Regions from separate parts of the Homo sapiens genome. Here region 2 is linked to region 1. The links are contacts of gene promoters, found by promoter capture Hi-C in human tissues and cell types (Jung and others, 2019). All regions are on one chromosome and are shown on one strand. Each heading gives the region's core, a stretch centred on a gene start or on the middle of the fragment in contact. The rest is flanking DNA. Distances are from core to core; before and after follow the strand shown.

Region 1 (4,257 bases), core at 962-3,461:
AAATGTTAATACCCTTGGACTCAATATTCCACTTCTGGGACTCACCTGGAAGGAAATTATTCACACATAGGAGCAAGATTTATGAAGAAAAAATTTTATTGCCATTATTTACAATCAATAAAAGTTGGAAATATTCAATAAAAGGGAAATTATGAGATATTCATATGATAAAAATATTGTATGACATTTAAATTAATGTTTTTTAAAAATCCTCAAAGGAGGAAGAATTTCCCACAAAGTTATTTTTAACAAAAAGCAGGATGCACTTGTGTGTCTGTGTGTGTGTGTGTGTGGTTTTATCTCAACTTAGTTTAAAGCTAGAAAGCTAGAAAAAAGACTGGAAAGAAATATGAATATTACTAATGGCTTTCTCTAGGTGATGAGATTATGAATGCTTTTCTTCCTTTATGTTTCTATATTTTTCAGTTTTTCTAAAATAAACGTTTTCGCCTAGTGCAGTGGCTCATGCCTGTTATCCCAGCACTTTGGGAGGCTGATGAGGGCAGATCGCTTGAGCTCAGGAGTTTGAGACCAGCCTGGGCCATGTGGCAAAACCCCATCTCCACAAAAATTAGCTGGGTATGGTGGTGCATGCCTGTAGTCCCAGCTATGCAGGAGGCTGAGGCAGGAGAATCGCTTGAACTTGGGAGGCAGAGGTTGCAGTGAGCTGAAATTGCACCACTGCCCTCCAGCCTGGGCAATAGAGCAAGATCCTGACTCAAAAAAAAAAAAAAAACTCCAGCGTCAAAAATAAAATAAAATGAGAAGTAGGAGAAATTATTAGAGATTCTGGACCTTTTAGGGCATTTTTCCCTAATATCCACTCAGGCCGTGCCCAGATGGCCTTGCACCTTCAGCTGTGGCATCAAACAAAACTGGGAATTGCAGCTTTACCACTTATCTCGCTGCATAAGCTTCCACAAGCAAGTTACTTACTGTTTGTGCTTTTAGGTTCTTAATATGTAAAACAATGTTTTACATTAAAAATTAAATGAAATAGCTCCTGAAAAGCCCAGTCACATTGTCAGAGCTCAGTAAAAATGTGTTCCCTTATTCTAGTACTGGGGCAGAACACCTGCAGGTTTGTAGGTGGGGAGACAGTGGACAGAGTGGCTGGGTGATGAAGTGGGGCTCTAGAGGATGAGCAGAGATTGCCTCTGAGCCGACACCCTGGCCCTGTCAGTTCCCGTCCTCACATGATGGACATGAAGGGAACACGAATGAAGCAGATGATGATACGGTTAAGTAAATACCACCTGGGACCAGAGAGAGCCCTTCTCAAGGAGTCGCCAGCCCAGAGTCGGCCCTCTTCTGAGCTGGCCGGCTGGAGTCAATCTGCTTTGGACAACACAGCTTCAGATGGAGATAATACTGAGGCCAATGATCCTTGAAGACAAAATAATCTCTGGGCTTCTTTCTGCTCTGATTATAATGTTGCAATTATACTGAGCAGATGCTGATAGGAATTTGGTCAAATCCATCCCGTCTTCCATCTAACTTATTTTAGTGCCTGGTGGATTTCTGTCCAGCTCCACGGGCTGTGGCAATGCCGGGGCTGGCTGGAAGTGTGGAAGGGGCTGGCTGGAAGTGTGGAAGAGGCTGCCCGGGCTCCGGCATCAAGAGGTTTTCTCCGGTGGGGAGGAGTGCGCGATCTGATCCTTGGAGCGCTTGCAACTGTAGCCCTCCCCCAGGGCTCTGCGCTGATCTCCAGGGTCATCATCATAGTAACAGTAAGAACTTCATTTTATAGCATTTTTCAATCTGTAAGACAACGTCGTGTCCTTTATACCGTTGAAATTTCAATTTCACGACTACTCAGATGTTACGCGACTTGCTCAGTATCCAACACTTGGTTCCTTCACTGGCTCCCGGAGACCTGGGTGCTGAAGCCACTGCAAGGAGGTGTGTGCTCGAACACACAGCGAACACCGACTGCGTGGTTAGCAGGATTCGCTGGGGAAGAGGCCTCAGGAGAGTGCTGGAATTTCCAACCTTCGAGGTGCTAGTAACGTGTGTCGAGGAAGGGGTTGGAGAAGGGGAGAAAATGAAAAGAAGGGGAGAAAATGAAAAGATGGGGAGGAGGAGAAATGGTTTGGGTTTGGTTTTGGCTTGAGCCTCACCCAAGCGTCCCACGCCGCAGCTCCGCGGCCTCCTGGGGGCGCCCGCTCGCGTTGCCACGGCGCTCGCGCGGAGCCGCAGCCCGCCCAGCCAGCAGCGCGCGCTCCTGCAGCCCCGGCGGAGTCCCGGCGGGGAGCGCCCGCGTAGGCAGGCACCCGGGGCAGCCCTCCGTCCTCGCCGCGCGGCCTGAGAACCCCTGGGCCCTGGGCGAGGGGGCTGGGCTGTGCAGCCCCCGAGGCTAACTGGGCGGGATCGCAGCTGCAGGGGTTGTGCGAGCAGCCACGGCGGCACCTGTGCCCTGCGGGCACCCACCCTGCCCCTGCCGAGGCAGGCGCCCACCGCCGGCGGTGATGCGGCTGTGAAGCCCTAGTCGGTGAGTACCCTCCAGTCCCCCTGTGGGCGAGCGAATCTAAATGACAAGGTTATGTGTTTTGCTGGATGTCTTCTAAGAATCATTTATTTAGATTGCTTATGGTGGGGAAGCGTTTCCTTTGTGACATCTTTGTGTTTCTCGGATCTATTTCGTTTCCCTCTAAACGCAGCCCTCTCTCCCCTAGTGGGAAAGACACCCAGTATCCGTGTCTCGATCATCGCACGACACCCACCAGTGCGGATGCCACGTACCACACACTCCCCAGAGCCTGCCAGAGAGCAGGGCTGTCTCCCAGCCACGTCCACCCCATTTTCATTGTGCTTCTATCCCGCAGGCAAAGGAAGAGCGTACCCAGGCACCCCCGAGGTAGGCCAGGTGTCAGGACAGCCAGCAGGCCCTTGGCGAAGCCGGGTCCGCTCTGGCTAGCTCAGCGCGGTGAACCCATGAGCTCATTAGGAGCAGCGGCTGCTTTGCGCGGGGAACGCCGGTTTCCCTGCGGCAGAGGGGCCCTGCACCCGCCCGCGGCGCGCGGTGGTGGCCCAGGACCAGTGGCGCACACGCTTGCGCTCCCAGGCTGCAGGGCGCGCTGCGCCGGCGCAGCTCCCGGGCGTGTGCAACAAAAGGACGGCCAAGTTCATTCCCTCCTGGAAGCAGAGGGCGGGGCCGCATGACTTCTGGAGGCTGCATGTGTCTTAGAATCAAATGGTTATGACTCCATAGCAAAATGCTTTCTGTGTGTCAAGTCCTCTCCGTGCCTGCCAACCCCTTCCCTCCTCTCTCCTCCCTAAAATGCTTTCTTATTGGTCTGGCACTGTGATCAACTATTTAGAATTTTCATTGTAAAGAAATGAAAAAAGGGTGAAACCGAGACAAGCTGTAGGCTGAAAGGCTGGGCCCTGTGGTGCTATTCATTAGCTCTCAGGCCTGGCTGCTGGGGAGATTTTTAGAAATCCTGCTACCTGGGTCCAATCCCTGGAGATTCTGACTTAATTGGTCTGGGATATGGCCCAAACACTGGGATTTTTTAAATTTTCTTTTTGTGGGGAGGAGTGGTGGTGGGAAAATTTGGAGTGCATACTGGATTTTTTTTTTTTAACTTCCCAGGTGATTCTAATGAGCTAAGATGGCCACCCACCATTCTAATCAATCAGGGTGACATTTTTCCAGGTGAACTTGGTAATAGTTCAGTCTCTCAGGCTGCCGTTGGAGGGCAGGGTATGCAACTGTCATAAATGCCTACAAGCTACAGGCAAAGAGAGCTGGCAGGGCCTTGGGCTGCTCCAAGAAGCTCAGGATGAAGGCAGTGTCTCAAACGAGGGAGGGATCATCACTCTCGGAACAGGTCCCTTCACTAAATGAAGTGTTCTGATCTATATTCCAGGGCAAGGGGAAAGCAGATGCATACCTTTGCAAGTCTGTAGCATGAAAGCTGTGGCTCCCTGTACATTTGTGGACTTCATGGCTGCCTATGTACTAACCAGAGTCACATGTGTATATCCCCCCACCACCCACTCACTACAAGGAGAATGGACACTTAGAAAGCAGAAGAGGGGGCTGGGCGCAGAGGCTCAGGCCTGTAATCCCAGCACTTTGGGAGCCCGAGGTAGGCAGATCACTTGGGGCCAGGAGTTGGAGACCAGCCTGGCCAACATAGTGAAACTCAGTCTCTACTAAAAATACAAAAATTAACCAGGTGTGGTGGTGCATGCCTGTAGTCCCAGCTACTCGGGAGGCTGAGGCATGAGAATAGCTTGAGCCAGGGAGGT
Region 2 (3,918 bases), core at 576-3,075, 130 kb before region 1:
TCTCGGCAGCTATGGCCTTCAGGCATAACCCAGGGCTGTGTCAGCCTCAGTGGCCAAAGAATTCCAACCACAGTGATGCTGGGCTTAGAGCACCCCCCAGCACTACAACAGCTGAAGCAGTCATGGGCTTAGGGTCCTGACCAATCAGCCTCTCCCTAATCTCCTATGGGTTTCCTGATGAAAGACGAGCCCAAACAAAGCCAGGCAATGAAGACTGGCTTAGGTACCTATGTCAATGCACAGACATTGACACACAGCCATAAGGATCAAGGTCAATCAGAGAAACATGACATCACCAAATGAACAAATTAAGGTGCCAGTGACTAACCCTAAAGATATAGAGATGAGGCCTGGCATGGTGGCTCAGGCCTGTAATCCCAGCAGTTTGGGAGGCTGAGGTGGGAGGATCACTTGAGCCCAGGAGTTCAAGACTAGCCCGGGCAACATACTGAGACCCCATCTCTAAAAAAAAATTTAGATGGTCATAGTGGTGCACGCCTGTGGCCCCAAATACTGAGAAGGGTGAAGGAGGAGGATCACTTGAGGCCAGGAGTTTGAGGCTGCACTGAACTATGATTGTGCCACTACACTCCAGCCTGGGCAACAAATGAGACCTTGTATCTAAATAAATAAATAAGATGAAATAAAATAATAATAATGGGTAACATCGAAGCACTATTTCTTATAAAAGGTGAAAGCCTTTTATATGTACTGTCTTATTTATCCTTACACAGCCATGTGAATTAATTACTGTTATATTTCCATTTGACAGATGAGAAAACTGAGATACAAAGAAGTAAGTGCCTTTCCCACTGGCAAGTGATGGGCCAGATGTAGACAAGCTGGACGGGGTTTAAGTCCAGCTAACATGCTGCTCAGAGTGAGGAATAAACTCAACCAAATCATTGGTGGGAATGTAAATTAGTAGAGCCATTATGGAAAACAGTATGGAGATTCCTTAAAAACCTAAAAATAGATATACCACATGATCTAGTAATGCCACTGCTGAATATATATCCAAAGGAAAGGGAATCAGTATGTTGAAGAGATATTTGCACTCTCATGTTTACTGCAGCACTGCTCATAATACCCGAGATACGGAATCAACCTAAGTGTCTATCAAAAGAGGAATGGATAAAGAACATGTGGACTATATACACAAAATGGGATGTTATTCAGCCATTACAAGAGAATGAAATCCTGTAATTCCCATCAACATGGATGAGCCTGGAGTACATTACGTTAAGTGGAATAACCTAGGCACAGAAAGATAAATACCACATGTTCACACTCATATGTGAAAGCTCAAAAAGCTTATCTCCTAGAAATAGAGAATAGAAAGCCAGGCATGGCAGTTCACACCTGCAATCCCAGCACTTTGGTTGGCTGAGGCAAGAGGATAGCTTGAAGCCAGGAGTTCAAGACCAGTCTAGGCAACATAGCATGTTGCCTAAATAAAATAAAAAATATTTTATTTTCTAAAAATAAAAATAAAATTAGCCTAGCATGGTGGCATGTACTTGTGGTCCCAGCTACTTGGGAGACTGAGGCAGGAGAATCAGTTGAGCCCAGGAATTTGAGGCCACAGTGAGTTATGATCGTGCCACGGCACTCCAGCCTGGGCAACAGGGCAAGACCCTGTCTCCTTTTTTTTTTTTGAGATGGAATTTCACTCTTTTTACCCAGGCTGGAGTGCAGTGGTACAATCTCAGCTCACTGCAACCTCTGCCTCCCGAGTTCAAGCACTTCCCCTGCCTTAGTGTCCCAAATAGTTGGAACTACAGGCATGTGCCACCACGCATGGCTAATTTTTGTATTTTTAGTAGAGACGGGGTTTCACCATGTTGGCCAGGCTGGTCTTGAACTCCTGACCTCAGGTGATCCACCCATCTCGGCCTCCCAAAGTGCTGGGATTACAGGCATGAGCCACCGCGCCCAGCCTGGAATATATTCTTAAATTCATGTTGGATGGCTCAGATAACAACAACCTCTTTTTCTTAGTAAATATTGACTTTCAATAGTTATAAACAGTTGTTCTTCTTACAAGGCCCAGCCTAGGAGGACTCAACTGAAATGATGACAGCAGACAATTCCATCAGCAAGAAAGAGGATTTTGAGCTCATCATTGAGGGAAAGCTGATGAAAGAGAGCAGAGAGGTTCCAGGCTGCATTTTCCAAGATGTTGTCCTCTTCTCCGCCAAGACCTCCCAGATACTTCAGTAGGATATAGCAGTAAAACCTCATGGAGCAGATCATTTGAGCAGGCTCGGTCCCAAAGGGAAACAAAATACAGCAGCCTTTCAGGGTAGATCACACTGGGGAGACAGGGAGGCGGGGCAGCAAGGAAAGGAAAGTGAAGCTTAAAAGGTCTAAGGAGGATGGGGAGGGCAAGGCGAGCAGAGAGACCGCAGCTGAAGTTAGCAGGGGCAATAAGCATCCACCAGAGAAAACAGCCTGGGCGGATTCCAAGGAAGGGGATTTTCAAACTCAACTGCTGACTCAAAAAAAGACCCCCAGGCCAGGCGCGGGGTCTTTGTTTGAGACTCTGTCTCAAACAAAACAAAACAAAAATCCCAAATACTAAACTAACTTAGCTCCCACCCTACCTGAATTTTTTTTTTTTTTTTTGGTTCACGTTCTCTCATGATCTTCCCGAAATGTTATCCTTAAGCTTCGGGGAGAGGTGAGCAACGGAAGGAACTGGCCCAGGCCCACCACTAAAGAAGCCCCAGGACCAATCGGGGTCCTCAGAGAAGCCCCAGAAGAGCCAGGAACAAGCTGCAGAAAACCTGGGGAGGGTGGGGCCTCCACCCAATACTCCACTCACAACTGGACTCTCTGCCAGGAAAGCCAACTCCAACATTTAGATGCCCTAAAAGGAACAAAATTAACCTGCCAGGAACATGATTCAAGCAGCCTCGGTGTCTTCCGACCCACCCCATCATGGCAACCACAATTGTAGACCGCAGTCTCGATGACGTGTTCACATTATTTTGCATTTCTTTTTTCTTTTTTTATTTTTATTTTTATTTTTGAGACGGAGTCTCCCTCTGTCGCCCAGGCTGGAGTGCAGTGGCCGGATCTTGGCTCACTGCAAGCTCCGCCTCCCAGGTTCACGCCATTCTCCTGCCTCAGCCTCCCGAGTAGTTGGGACTACAGGCGCCTGCCGCCACGCCCAGCTAATATTTTTTATTTTTAGTAGATGGGTTTGCACCGTGTTAGCTAGGATGGTCTTGATCTCCTGACCTCGTGATCCACCTGCCTCGGCCTCCCAAATTGCTGGGATTACAGGCGTGAGCCACCGCGCCCGGCCTATTTTGCATTTCTTGAGTAATCGTAATATGCGGGTTAGAACACACGGATTACAACACTTTGGATGAAAAACCACATAATAGGGAAATTTTGGGACTACTCTCTCTCAAAAAAAAAAACAGCTCGTGGAAAAACTAGGACTTACCTTCTTTGAAACTATGTTTATGTTAAGCATTTTCCCCTTTGTAAGCTCATCATTGTGTAAAAGTGTCAGAACTGTGCAACACATTTTTTAACAGTCCAAAAGCAAGTTCTTTGATAAATCAATATGAAGCCGTGCACCTGTGTTACTCTCCCTCCCGTTTTGTTCCTGCGAACACATCGGTAACCTGCATTCACTCTCCATCCAACTCTGTTCAATACCAGAAAGAAACTTCAGATGAAATGCTTTTCAGTATTTGCCTTGTTTTCTGGAACAACTTTAAAGTACAAATTATACCTAAATAAGTACAAATTAAAGCCTCTGCTTTAATTTTCAAACACTTTGAACCCAGATTTTCAGGGGTCTCAAAATGGAGTTTTGTGTTTAAAAGTCTAAATTTAGCTTTCTTCCAAGGAAAAGGGTGTGAAGAAGAGAGGTTAAGACTAAAATACTCTGATTTGCAG

The links. The method cuts DNA at HindIII sites, captures the fragments that hold promoters and counts their contacts. A contact is called where the count stands out against the background at its distance.
Region 2: a contact is called between a fragment that was not itself captured here and the fragment with the promoter of MICAL3 in region 1, in 2 of the 25 tissues and cell types used here (dorsolateral prefrontal cortex and lymphoblastoid cells).

The regions. Positions count from the first base shown.
Region 1 is chr22:18,022,515-18,026,771 of GRCh38, reverse strand. MICAL3 (microtubule associated monooxygenase, calponin and LIM domain containing 3) reads left to right here and starts at 2,211. Exons shown (of 32, transcript NM_015241.3): 1 at 2,211-2,491. RefSeq lists a silencer at 2,074-2,483. The HindIII fragment of the contact is 7,498 bases long and covers 1-4,257 here.
Region 2 is chr22:18,151,170-18,155,087 of GRCh38, reverse strand. The region is part of intron 1 of USP18 (ubiquitin specific peptidase 18); the gene reads right to left. Among named protein-coding and RNA genes, the nearest start is that of USP18, 3.0 kb to the right of the region's middle. RefSeq lists an enhancer at 2,249-2,498. The HindIII fragment of the contact is 3,638 bases long and covers 7-3,644 here.